Regions from separate parts of the Homo sapiens genome. Here region 2 is linked to region 1. Evidence: promoter capture Hi-C in human tissues and cell types (Jung and others, 2019). All regions are on one chromosome and are shown on one strand. Each heading gives the region's core, a stretch centred on a gene start or on the middle of the fragment in contact. The rest is flanking DNA. Distances are from core to core; before and after follow the strand shown.

Region 1 (7,307 bases), core at 1,750-4,249:
GGGGGTGCTGAGTGCTAAGAAGCGTAAGGTTTAACAAGTCACCCACAGAAAGAGCTGGCTGCTCCCTCTGCTGGCAAAGTCAGTGCCTATCTGGTAAATTCTGGCTCTACAAATGGAGCCATGAAAGCACACTATTAGGTCTCATTTTAAATTCAGATGAACTTAATTTTATTTTCAGAGACAGAGTCTCACTCTGTCACCCAGGCTGGAGTGCAGTGGCGCAGTCTTGGCTCATTGCAGCCTTGACCTCCTGGGGCTCAAGGAATCTTCCTACCTCAGCTTCCTGAGTAGCGGCGGCTACAGGCTTGTGCCACCACGCTCAGCTGATTTTTGTATTTTTTTTTTTTTGTAGAGATGGGGTTTTGCCATGTTGCCTAGCCTGGCATTGAACTCCTGAGCTCAAGTGATCCGCCCACCTCAGCTTTCCAAAGTGCTGGGATTACAGGCGTGAGCCACTGCACCGGTCTCAGGAAGAATTACACAATTTTTCACAAGTGTTAAAGAGTGCTGCGTAAAGGGGACAGAACAAGAGTAAATATTTGATGATTAATTAAGATTTCCTGAAATTCTTTTCCCTGACAGATGGGTGGTATAATTCCAGGAAGTATTTCAATCTCTAGCCTAGATCTTAGGTTTGCCATTTTAAAACAAAGAGATGAATGTCTTCCACCAAGTTAATCTGTTTATGCCTTAGTCTGATCTGAGAAATGAGGATAATAATTATGCCTAACTTATACCTAACTCATTTAACTCAACTGAGTTTAAGTGATTAACTCATAAGTGAATCATTTAATGTTCATTATGAGTTAACTTGAGTTAGTTTAACACAAGTTAACCAACTTAAGAGAGTTACATGATCAACTCATTTAATGTTCAGATTCAATAAATCAAGCAAATTTCTTAGACCACTGCCTGATACATGGTAGATACTCATATTAGCTATAATGATTAGTATTCCAAAAAAGGGTGGACTGAGTGAAAGAAGCGAAACACAAAGGAATACACTCTGCACTCCAAAGTTAACCTGAAAACTTTGGAACCTTGTCGGGGGAGGTAGGACATGCCTCATTATTCCCTCCTCCCTTTTGGAATTCAGGCCCAGCTGACCAGCACTAACATTAAAACAGATCTTAAGACTGACAAAGCAGACTTTGTAGCAATAAGATACCAAATTCCAGCGGGACTCTAGTATGACATCACATGACAGATAGCAAGCCCTGAAAGTGAAGTATTTTACCCCAAATTACGTTTCTTCGCCATATCTTGAAATAGTCCTGCAAAGCTAAAGCTATCTCTTGTGGGGAAAATCTACATTCTGAAGAGAATCCCCTTCCTTTTCTAGGCCTTTTTCCTGATTCAGGAGAGAATCAACTCTGATAAGAAACATTTACAATTTATTCTCTCAATAGACTGCTACCTGGAGACTTCCTCTGCCTAAGGGAAATCTTGGTCTCCTCAACCTCTTATCTTAATGCAGACATTCCCTTCTTTTTTCAGTTTTTTTTTTTTTTTTTGAGATAGTCTCGCTCTGTCGCCCAGGCTGGAGTGATCTCGGCTCACTGCAACCTCTGCCTCTCAGGTTCAAGCTATTCTCCTGCCTCGGCCTCCCGAGTAGCTGGGGTTACAGGCTCCTAGCACCACGCCTGGCTTTTTTTTTTTTTCTTTTGTATTTTTAGTAGAGGTGGCTTTTCACCTGTTAGCCAGGCTGGTCTCGAACTCCTGACCTCAGGTGATCCACCCGCCTTGGCCTCCCAAAGTGCTGGGATTACAGGCGTGAGCCACCGTGCTAAACCGCCTTCTATTAATTCTATCTGCAGCCACAAGTCCTTATATAATCCAGACATTCCCTTCTGTGGATTCCAGGTGTTTGGACAAAACTTTAAATCAATTGTTCATCAGAAAATCTTTGAATCTTAACTATGACCTGGAAACCACTCCCCCTCCCCCAGTAGTCTCACCTCTCCAGATGGAACCAATGTATGTCTTGTATGTACTGATTGACATCTTATGTCTCTCCAGAAGCACACATTCTCAGGATTTCCCAAGAGCTGTATCAGAGGCCATTGGTCACTCATATTTGCCTCAGTATAAATCTCTACAAATATTTTAGCGTTTGACTCTTTTCAGCACAGGTAGAAAAATTAAATATTGTTTCTTTTTTACATACTTAGTTTCACCCCAAAGCTCATTAGATTCCCTAACACTATGTAGGTTCTATTTATTCTGAAGAAGGAGCTTGACCTGACTCACATTATTTACTAGCTGAAAGGCACATTTACCTGCGTTGAACTCGGGATCGTCTTCCAGGGCGACGACAGCTCCCTCTACGGCATCCACGGCGCTCCCGCCCTCCCGGAGGATGCCGTAGCCCACGGTGGCGGCTCTGACCATGCCCTGGTGCACTCGCTCCTTCCGATCCTTGGAGATGGGACCGGCTCCGCCGCCGTGGACCACTACGATGGGATTCATGTCGGCGGATCCTAGGCAGCAGGAAGGCGAAAGCGTCGTCCAAAGCCAGCCCAAGGAAGCCGCGCGGGTACAAGGTCCTCGGGAGACCCTGTGGGGACAATGCCCAGTCTCTGTTCTGAACGGCTGGGTTCGCAGCTGGGGGTGGGTAGGGGCGGCTCGGTCGAGCTTGGTACGAAAAGCCCAGGGGCCCGGCGCCCTCCCGCGTTCCTCTCCGCCCCCGGCCCGGACCTGCTGGGGGTCTCAGTTTCCCCGGGGACGTTAACCCGCGCCCACCGCCGCCCGCCTCCAAGCCCCGGCGCCGAAGGAGGATGTCTATTTCGCCTTCGGGAAAATGTCTATTTTCGTTTATTTCATTCGCCCTCCCGCGTCTCGGGCGGCTGCTCCGGGAGGGCCGCCGACTTACCCAGGGCACCGCAGGACGCGGACGCCGAGACCTCAAGCTGGGTCGAGCCAGCCCCGCAGCCGCCCGGTACCGCCGCTCCCCGACGCCGGCTCGAAACCGCTCAGCCCGCAACCGCTCTGGTCACAACGGTTCTGCGCCTGCGCACGAGGGCGGGACCGCCGCACGGCCCAGTTCCCATAAAGCCCCGAAGGCCGGCTGGCGCGCACCTGTCTCACTCCTCTCAAGAGTCTACGCTCTTGGCCGGCCCGAGCTTCCTGGTGGCACGCGGGGAACCTCCTGCTCCTGACCAGGCTAGGGGCTGGGTGGTTGGGTTGGTGGCGAGAAGCGTGAAGTGGCATGCCACGATTTTGTAATTGCAGATTGAAAAGCAACGCTAGGCTGTGCGCAGTGGCTCATGCCTTGTAATCCCAGCACTTTGAGAGGCCGAGGCGGACGGATCACCTGAGGTCGGGAGTTCGAGACCAGCCTGACCAACACGGAGAAACCCTGTCCCTACTAAAAACACAAAATTAGCTGGGCGTGGTGGCGCATGCCTGTAATCCCAGCTACTCTGGAGGCTAAGGCACGAGAATCGTTTGAACCTGGGAGGCGGAGGTTGCGGTGAGTGGAAATCGCGCCATTGCACTCCAGCCTGGGCAACAAGAGTGAAACTCCGAATCAAAAGAAAAAAAAATTATACTGGGACAATGGGCATAAACAGGGACAGATCCAGGCAAACTGTGATTGATCTCCTGTGGATAGGAGAGTCCTTTCCCTTCTTGTTTACCCACAACTGATAACATATTTTACCACTCTTGGGAATTCCCTTTACTCCTGTTTTACCTTCGTTTCCTGCCTTAAGGCCCAGTTTAAATGAACCCCTCCTGCAAAGCCTTCTCCCTGGCACCCCACTAAGGATCAGTCATTCCCTTTCTAGTGACCTATTGTTAGAGATTACCACAAATTTATTGGCTTCAAACAACACACATTATCTTACAGTTCTGGTGGTCAGAAATTCAAACTGGGTCTGCAGGGTTGAGTTCCTTCGGGAAGCTCCAGAAGAGAATCTGTCTTTTCTTGCTTCTACAAGCTGCCTGTATCCTTGGCTCATGGCCTCATCCTCCATTGCCAAAGCCAACAGCCTAGCATCTTTAACTCTCTCTCCCTCTGGCCTGTTTCTGCTGCTACGTCACTTCTCTCTCTGTCACCATCATCACGATTTTCTTTTCTGACTCTGACTCTCCTGCCTCCTTCTTAAAGGAAGTCCCTTGGGATGACATTGGGCCCACCCAGATAACCCAGGATAATCTCCCTTTCTTACAATTTCTATTCTCATCTGCAAAGTCCCTTTTGCCATGTGAGGAGTGTTCACAGGTGGAGATTCGGATGTGACACCTTTGAGGGCCGTTATTCTGTCTCCCACACTCACCTCTTGGAAGAGGGTTATTTTAGCACGTCTCAACTGGTCGTGAGCCTAGTTGTGTCATCATAATACAGCTCACCATCATTTGGTTTCAGCTATTTATAGGAACCTGAACCCTACCCTATGCCTAGCCCTAACTCAAACCCCATCTCTACTGTTTTTCCTGATTGATCTGGAATTCAGTGATCTGGCTGAGGCTGGGGAAGGTGGCTGGTGGCCCAAGCAGGTAGAATGTTGGTTTCCATTTGATCCTCCCATCTCAGCCTCATGCGTTTATCTACTTCTCTGATGGGCTTCGTATTCCCCATCCCAATCCAAAGTCTCTTAGATAAATTCTCTAGAAAATAAACTTCTGGTCTTTGAGGAGGAAAGAGGAAGCATCTTTTTGTCCGGCTCTGTGGGATAGGAGAAGGAATCTGGCTAACTCCTCTGTAGACGATGTTCCATCAACAATCATTTTATGGATTAAGGATTGTATTCAACTGTCCCTGACGAAACGTGACCACAGTGGTTTAACCAGATAACTGTTGATTTGAAAACAACAATAACAACAACAACAACAACAACAACAACAAGACATCTAGTGGTTGCTGCCCAGGCTGGTGCAGCAGCTCCAAGGTGACACAGATGTCCCATCTCCTTCTCTTCCCTTCAGCATGTGGCTTTCACATTTATGGTGCTCCTAGGCACCTTGATCACTATTGGGGCAGAAGGAATGGGGAAGGGCAAAGGGAAGAAGGCTTTTGCCAGCTCCCCTTTGTTCCTTTAATTCAGGAAAGCTCTCTAGCTTTCCTAGAAGTCCTCCAAGTGGACTTTTATTGGCCAGAACTGGATTGGGGGGCTGCCCCTAGTGGCAAGAGAGTCTGAGTTTTTATTTTAGCAGGGTACATCATGGCCCTGGATAAAATCAAGGTCTCTTGGCAAGAAGGAAGGGTGACAGGCTATTGGAGAGACAACTGGGAACACCTGCCACTCCTGCCTCCCCATCTTTGAGATTCCTGTGTGTCTAAGCCCTGAGTCTCTCAAGCGTTCTCCAGAACAAATGGATTCACCTCTCAAGTAGATTACAACTTCCTTTAATCTGCCATTTGTTATTCATCTTCCAAAGTGACCTTTTTTACCTGCCATTGTCATCTCTCCCATTCTTCCTGTCTTTGTGGGTAGTATTCTTTTTAAGATTGTTTACTATCATTTTAGAGGGATTTTTGAAGGGAGGAGTAACCCATTTGTGTGACTGGGGAGGTTGACTAGAGCCCCAAGGAAGTGATTCTAACTACAGTGGCTCTGGATGTTCTAGGAGGAGGAGGGTTGGGTTAGGGAATGCCAGAGTTGGGGAGAGGAGGTGGGACCAGAAAAGGAGGGACTGGGCAGGGACTGGGCATTTCTGGGTCAGAAATGAAGGAGGCATATTAGAGAGATTGACGAAGAAGAAATGGGGGTGGGAGGGAGGAAGAGAAGAAAAAAAGAAAGAAGCAACTAACATTTCCTTCCTTTCCTTCCCTTCCTTCCCTTTCTTTCCTTTCTTTCTTTCTTCTTTGAGACGGAGTCTCGCTCTGTTGCCCAGGCTGGAGTATAGTGGTGCGATCTTGGCTGACTATAATCTCCATCTCCCGAGGCTCAGACATGATTCTCCTGCTTCAGCCACCCAAGTATCTGGGATTACAGGCATGCACCACCACGCCCAGCTAATTTTTGTATTTTTAGTAGGGATGGGATTTCAACATCTTGGCTACGCTGGTCTCGAACTCCTGACCTCAAGCGATTTGCCCACCTTGGCCTCCCAAAGTGCTGGGATTACAGGTGTGAGCCACTACACCTGGCCGCAACTAACATTTTCTGAAGGTCCACTGGGGAACTGGCAGGCTGCCTTTACTACGTTCTTACTGCCTAGCAACTTCCCATCCCCACCAGTCTCAGCTACATGAGGAAAAGGCTTTTGGCTGACCCCACTGGGGGCAGGATGGGAATCTGTGAGACTCCCTCCAAATTCTAGAATGTGTAACAGTATCTTGAGCCTGCCACCTTCCTATCTTGAGCTTCGCTTTCAAACAAGAAGCGGGACACATACGTTTCAACTCTGAGATCCCTGAGCTTATTTAGGAGATTTAGTACCCATGAATTTGTTCAGGAACGGGGCCTGAGGCTGTTTTTAGGAAGCCCACATCAGCATTTTGTGCAATAGCACTTCTTTCTAACTTTCTTCTCCTCTCTGACCACAGAATTGTAATTCAGTTAGTGATATGGGATGGGGGCAGGGAAGTGCTGGGTAGAGAAGGGCATGGTCCCTGGCTAGGGCTCCACCCCTGGGCCTGTGCCCATGGACCTAGGTGAGGACAGGCACTCCTGCCTTCAGGCCTAAATGTTGCATTTTCCAAGACCACTCTGGCCCACCACGCCCCCATCCTGTGCCCATAAAAACCTCGAGACCCAGCCGCGCGCGGTGGCTCAAGTCTGAAATCCCAGCACTTTGGGAGGCCGAGGCGGGTGGATCATGAGGTCAGGAGATCGAGACCATCCTGGCTACCACGGTGAAACTCTGTCTCTACTAAAAAGACAAAAAATTAGCCGGGGGTGGTGGCACGTGCCTGTAATCCCAGCTATTCAAGAGGCTGAGGCAGGAGGATGCTTGAACCCGGGAGGTGGAGGTTGCAGTGAGCTGAGATCATGCCAATGCACTCCAGCCTGAATGACAGAGCGAGACTCCATCTCAAAAACAAAACAAAACAAAACAAAACAAAACAAAACAAAAAAACACCTCAAGATCTTAGGGGGCAGGCACACAAGCGGCTGGACGCCGAGAGGAGCACGTTGGTGGAAGAGCACACTGACAGGTGCCAACAGATGCCGGCAGGCCATCGAGCAGTGGAGCCATGGTGGAGTTTGGCCGGGGCAGTCGGAGGAGAGCCTGGCCACTGGGCAGCCCGGCTCGGCAGGGAAAACCACCTTTCCACTCCATCCCCCTTCTGGCCTCGCTGAGAGCTACTCCTCAGTAAAAAACCTTGCACTCATTCTCTAAGCCCATGTGTGATCCGA
Region 2 (6,773 bases), core at 322-2,821, 300 kb before region 1:
GTTTACCAATTTACACTTCCACCAGTGATTTATAAGAAGCCCTCATTGAAGCTGGGCAAGCCAGGATGGTCTCGATCTCCTGACATCGTGATCTGCCCATCTCAGCCTCCCAAAGTGCTAGGATTACAGGCTTGAGCCACCACACCCGGCCAGCCTTCCCTATTATTAATATGACTATGGTTCATTTGTGATACCTAGTGAATTGATAGTGATACATTAGTTACTAAAGTTCATACTTGAGGTTTCTTTAGTTTTTGTGTATGTTCTTTTTCTGTTCCAGGATTTCATCCAGGATATGTTATTACATTTAGTTGTCATGTTTCCTTAGGGCCCTCTAGACTGATAAAATTTCTTAGACTTTTCCTTTTTCTTAATGATCCTAAAGGTACTTTTGATAAACAGAAATTCCTAATTTTAATGTATTTAGATGTATCAGTCTTTTACCTTCTGTTGTTAGCCTTTTGTTTGTTGTATTTAGTCTTTATCTACCCCAAGGTCAGAAAAAAATATATATATATATATTTTTTGAGACAGAGTCTTGCTCTGTTGCTTAGGCTGAGTGCAGTAGTGCGATCTTGGCTCACCACAACCTCCGCCTCCTGTGTTGAAGCGATTCTTTCTTCAGCATCAGCCTCCCGAGTAGCTGGGACTACAGGCGTGCACCACTATGCCTGAGTAGCTGGGACTACAGGCGTGCACCACTATGCCCGAGTAGCTGGGACTGCAGGCTCATGCCACTATGCCCAAGTAGCTGGGACTACAGGCGTGCGTCACTATACCCGGCTACTTTTTGTATTTTTAGTAGAGACAGGGTTTCACTATGTTGACCAGGCTGGTCTCAAACTCCTGACCTCATGATCCACCTGCCTCGGCCTCCGAAAGTGCTGAGATTACAGGAATGAGCCACCATGCCTGGCCAAAAATATATTTTTTAATTTTCTTCTAACACTTTTGCTTTCATTTATTTACTTATTTTGAGATCGGGTTATGAGACTGGCTAATTTTTGTATTTTTGGTAGAGATGGGTTTTTGCCATGTTGCCCAGTCTGGTCTTGAACACCAGGGCTCAAGCGATCCACCTGCCTCGGCCTCCCAAAGTGCTGGGATTACAATAGTGGGCCACCGAGCCCATCCTAAAGCTTTTACTTTTAAATTTTAAGCAGGCTGGGTGTGATGGCTCATACCTGTAATCCCAGCACTTCGAGAGGCCAAGGCGGACAGATCACTTGAGGTCAGGAGTACAAGACCAGCCTGGTCAACATGGTGAAACCCCGTCTCTACTGAAAATACAAAACTTAGCCGGGCGTGGTGGTGGGCGCCTGTAATTCCAGCTACTCGGGTGCCTGATGCACAAGAATCACTTGAAACTGGGAGGCAGAGGTTGCAATGAGCCGAGATTGTGCCACTGCACTCCAGTCTGGGTGATAGAGTGAGACTATCTTAAGAAAAAAAAATTTTTTAAGTCATAATCTTTCTGCAGTTGATACTTGTATCTGGTATTAGATAGAAATATGATATCAAGGGGTTGGGCGTGGTAGCTCATGCCTGTAATCCCAGCACTTTGGGAGGCCGAGGCAAGTGGATCACTTGAGGTCAGGAGTTTGAGATTAGCCTGGCCAACATGGCGAAAAATCATATCTCCTAAAAATACAAAAAAAAATTAGCCGGGTGTGGTGGCACCTGCCTGTAATATCAGTTACTAGGGAGGCTGAGTCAGGAGAATCACTTGAACCTGGAAGGTGGAGGTTGCAGTGAGCCAAGGTTGTGCCACTGTGCTCCAGCCTGGGCAACAGAGCGAGACTCCATCTCAAAAAAAAAAAAAAGAAGTACATCATTTTTCTTCATATTTGGAAAATCATTTTTTTTCCTATATGGAAAATGTTTTTTCAGTTCCATTTTTGAATAGTTCTCCTTTCCTCTCTCATCTGCTATGCCACCTCTTAGTATTTAGTACATTTAAAAAAGTAATAAGTGGCCAGGCACAGTGGCTCACGCCTGTAATCCCAGCACTTTGCGAGGCCGAGGTGGGTGGATCACCTGAGGTCAGGAGTTTGAGACCAGCCTCAACATGAAGAAACCCCATCTCTACTAAAAATACAAAATTAGCCAGGTGTGGTGGTGCATGCCTGTAATCCCAGCTATTTGGAGGCTGAGGCAGGAGAATTGCTTGAACCTGGGAGACGGAGGTTGCGGTGAGCCGAGATTGCGCCATTGCACTCCAGCCTGGGCAACAAGAGTGAAACTCCGTCTCAAAAAAAAAAAAGAAAAAAGTAATAAATATGCTTGGGTCTGTTTCTGGGCCCTTTGGTTCTGTTTATTAACTTGTCTATCCCTGCTCTGTTACCACACTGCCTATTTCTCTTAACAGGTAGATTTCCCCCGGTCTTCTAAAGTGTCATTACTCCTCTTGGCCCTTTGTACTTCCTTATATTTCTTTTGATATGTTTCCCAGGCTTTCTGTCTCTGGTCGTGATGAGAACAGTGTGGAGTTAACCATGGCTGAGGGACCCTACAAGATCATCTTGACAGCACGGCCATTCCGCCTTGACCTACTAGAGGACCGAAGTCTTTTGCTTAGTGTCAATGCCCGAGGACTCTTGGAGTTTGAGCATCAGAGGGCCCCTAGGGTCTCGTGAGTACAGGGGTTGGGACTGCAGGGAACCTAGTGTGAAAGAGCATAGGGGTGTTGTGAGGTCTGGCACGGGGAGGAGACGGTGGTGGGACAGCCAGGTAGGGCCTGGGGGCTGGGAGAAGCTCTCTGTCAGGGAGGGTAGGAACCAGACCCGGGTGCGGTTTTTTCCATTTCCTGTACAGACCAGGAGGCAGTCACTTTTGTCCCTGAGCTGTACCCTGGGCATCTCTGGGAGGCCTGCCTGGGTCTGTGTCTCCTTCTTCCCCTTCTCACATCATCACATTTCCCAGATTTATTTTCTTCGTTTTTATTTATTTATTTTTTTTGGTTTCTTTTTCCCCCCATCTCTGGAAGTTTGTCGACTGAAACTCACTTTTATGTTTCTGTTTTTGTGTTGGTTTTGTGCCTCTTTTTCCCCTTCCCTACCCATCTCCTCCTGCCCCAGTTTCTCGGATAAGGTTAATCTCACGCTTGGTAGCATATGGGATAAGATCAAGAACCTTTTCTCTAGGTAAATCCATGGCCACCGGTACTGTATCTGTTCCTCTGCCCTTACCCATTCCTCACTCTAGCCTTTGGGGGGAGGTGCCCCAGACCCTTCCAGCCTTTCACTCACCCCACTTTCCCCTGCTGTGTGATGTCTGGTCCTGTTACCTGTTACCCTGGCTGGGAGCCCCCAGAAGAAGGAAGGTGAGATACTGAAAGTCAGGTCCTTCGGGAATGTAGGGAGCTTATTGCTTTGCCAGGGGATGGAGAGATGCTGCCTATTGCTGGGGTTCCTGACTCTCAGCTGAGGGGCACCTGAGGTTCTGGGCAGAGCTACTTGCCCTTGAAAGCATTTTTTGGCAGAATCTCTTGAAGTCCCTATGTATGTCTGTAGAGGCTTGGTATAGTATGACCCACATGCCTTTGCAAAGCCATTGTGTCAGGCCAGGAGGCTGAGGCCCAGGGAGAGCACTTGGGGCCAGAATCTCTCAGTAGAGGCAACAGAGCCAGGATTGGCATTCATAACCCAGGCCCCTGAATCATTCTGCCTTTCTCTTCTGGGATGTTGACAGAGGCTGGTGTTCAGGCCTGTGCCTCCTGGTGGCACTTATTCCTCATTTTCCTTTCTCATTTCTCTCCCCATCCTTTGCAAACTTATCTGCTCATTGTGGGTTCCCTCTCCAAGCTTTAACATTTAGTCCCTTCCTCCAATGCCTTCGTTCCTTTGGACCCTTGGCTCTCTATTCCCCAACCCCTCCTTCCACTAGCCCCTCGTCCCTGCCCCCTCTGGATTGGAGCAGACAGCTCTCCTACCTTCCAGGCAAGGATCAAAAGACCCAGCTGAGGGCGATGGGGCCCAGCCTGAGGAAACACCCAGGGATGGCGACAAGGCAAGTTGGAGCGGGTGGGTGGTTGGAGGATAGGGCTGGCTGGGAGGGTGGAGGGGAGAGGCCCATGAGAAACTTGAACTTAGTCTCCCCATCAGGGATGGGATTTAGTTGATGGGAGCGGGGAAAGAGAGAACTGGTATGATTGGAGAGTGGTCCTCTTTTCTTCTTAACAGCCAGAGGAGACTCAGGGGAAGGCAGAGAAAGATGAGCCAGGAGCCTGGGAGGAGACATTCAAAACTCACTCTGACAGCAAGCCGTATGGTGAGGGGCTCGGGTTCCTTGGGCTGGGGTGCAGGGCTCCTTTCCAAGCAGAAGCTCTGAAGCTTGTTTGTTTTTCTTCCAGGCCCCATGTCTGTGGGTTTGGACTTCTCTCTGCCAGGCATGGAGCATGTCTATGGGATCCCTGAGCATGCAGACAACCTGAGGCTGAAGGTCACTGAGTGAGTCCTATGGTGACATCAGGAAGATGGAGGTGGGCAGGAAGGAGTCAGGCCTTTAGGGAGATGGGTGTGCATATTGGATACTCTAGGCAAGCATGGGTCATTTCTTGTGTCCAGAATCACCTTTGGTGATAGAAAATTTTTTGAGAAAGGACAAGAGGAGCCTTTGCTTATCTCTCACCTGTGTCTGTGGAGTGGTGTTAGCATATAACGCAGCCTGGGGCCAGTTAGCAGCCCAAGTCTGTCTGTTTGCCTGCAGGGGTGGGGAGCCATATCGCCTCTACAATTTGGATGTGTTCCAGTATGAGCTGTACAACCCAATGGCCTTGTATGGGTCTGTGCCTGTGCTCCTGGCACACAACCCTCATCGCGACTTGGGCATCTTCTGGCTCAATGCTGCAGAGACCTGGGTTGATATATCTTCCAACACTGCCGGGAAGGTGAGAGCACAGGCACGGGGAAAAAGGAGGGAGTGAAGCTTCCAGGCCTTGAGGCAAATAGGTATACTAGGGGCATTAGCTATTTGGGGACTGGGTTTAAGAAGGGGCTGTGGGCCTGGTGGGCAGCATTTGAGTTCCCTAATCACTCCCAGGTGACACGCTCACTCACATTCTTAGGGAAGGCATTGCCTATTCTGGGCTGACGGAATGCACTTATTATCAGTGTGTTACGTGCTAGGTACTCTTCTGGGTGCTGGGGATATAGTGTTAACTGAGGTTGAAAAGGTTCTGGGCTGGGTGTGGTGGCTCATGCCTGTAATCCCAGCACTTTGGGAGGCTGAGGTGGGCGGATCACCTGAGGTCAGAAGTTGGAGACCAGCCTGGCCAACATGGCGAAACCTCATCTCTACTAGAAAAACAAAAATTAGCAGGGTGTGGCGGCGGACTCCTGTAATCCCAGCTATTCGGGAGGCTAAGGCAGGTTAATTGCATGAATCTGGTTGGTGGAGGTTGCAGTGAGCGGAGATTTCACCACTGCACTCCAGCCTGGGTGACAGAGTGAGACTCTGTTTCAGAAAAAAAAAAAAGAAAGGTTCTGACTCACAGGGAGGAAGACACGTTAAACACATAACAAAGGAGGCAAGATGGGGCCGGGCATGATAGCTCATGTCTGTAATCCCAGCACTTGGGGAGGCTGAGGCAAGAGGATCGCTTGAGGCCAGGAGTTCGAGACCAGCCTGGGCAACATGGCGAGACCCCATCTCTATAAAAACGTTTGAAAAATAAAAATAATAAGCAAGATGATGCCGGGTGCAGTGGCTCCCACCTCTAATCCCAGCACTTTGGGAGGGCGAGGTGGACAGATCACAAGGTCAAGAGATCGAGACCATCCTGGCCAACATTGTGAAACCCTGTTTCTACTGAAAATACAAAAGTTAGCTGGGTGTGGTGGTGTGCGCCTGTAGTCTTAGCTACTCGGGAGGCTGAGGCAGGAGAACTGGTTGAACTGGGGAGGTGGAGATTGCAGTGAGCTAAGATCACACCATTGCACTCCAGCCTGGCAAAAGAGTGAGACTCTGTCTAAAAAAAAAAAAAAGAATGCAAGATGAGTTTGGGGTGATTAAGTGCTAACAAAGACATGAAAGAGAGTCTTTGTTAGCACTTAACCACCCCAAACTGGTGGGGTAGGGGTGGGGGCTGTACTGCTTTAGATAGTGTGGTCTAGGAAAGCCTCACTGAAGAGGCCCCGTTTAGTCTTACCGAAAGCAGCTTACATGAGCCAGCTCTGTGTGGACTCTGGGAGAAAATTGCTACTTTTTGTCTTGGGGTTGGAAAATGGGAGGGCAGGAGGTGTCTGACCCCTTTGTGGTCACCTATACAGACCCTGTTTGGGAAGATGATGGACTACCTGCAGGGCTCTGGGGAGACCCCACAGACAGATGTTCGCTGGATGTCAGAGACTGGCATCATTGACGTCTTCCTGCTGCTGGGGCCCTCCATCTCTGATGTTTTCCGGCAATATGCTAGTCTCACAGGTACATGGTTTTCCCTGCCTCATTCTTCTGCTCTTTTCTTGTCGGGTGATTCTATGTGTTTTCAGAGATCCTGTGCCCCAGCTTGTTTTCTAGGTTTATACCCCTCAGCCTGCCTCTAGTTCACAAGCCTCCCTCAGTTTCTGGGTGTTGGGCCTGATCCTCGTTGTGACCCCCATCCCTCATGAACCTGCAGGAACCCAGGCGTTGCCCCCACTCTTCTCCCTCGGCTACCACCAGAGCCGTTGGAACTACCGGGACGAGGCTGATGTGCTGGAAGTGGATCAGGGCTTTGATGATCACAACCTGCCCTGTGATGTCATCTGGCTAGACATTGAACATGCTGATGGCAA

The links. The method cuts DNA at HindIII sites, captures the fragments that hold promoters and counts their contacts. A contact is called where the count stands out against the background at its distance.
Region 2: a contact is called between a fragment that was not itself captured here and the fragment with the promoter of ASRGL1 in region 1, in 1 of the 25 tissues and cell types used here (hippocampus).

The regions. Positions count from the first base shown.
Region 1 is chr11:62,333,140-62,340,446 of GRCh38, reverse strand. It overlaps ASRGL1 (asparaginase and isoaspartyl peptidase 1), which reads right to left and starts at 2,999. Exons shown (of 7, transcript NM_001083926.2): 1 at 2,873-2,999; 2 at 2,280-2,557. The coding sequence starts at 2,469. RefSeq lists an enhancer at 2,419-3,088. The HindIII fragment of the contact is 36,513 bases long and covers 1-7,307 here.
Region 2 is chr11:62,630,680-62,637,452 of GRCh38, reverse strand. GANAB (glucosidase II alpha subunit) reads left to right here. Exons shown (of 24, transcript NM_198334.3): 5 at 2,453-2,632; 6 at 3,939-4,008; 7 at 4,182-4,269; 8 at 4,352-4,448; 9 at 4,708-4,888; 10 at 6,270-6,423; 11 at 6,617-6,773. Among named protein-coding and RNA genes, the nearest start is that of B3GAT3, 12 kb to the right of the region's middle. The HindIII fragment of the contact is 6,117 bases long and covers 1-4,629 here.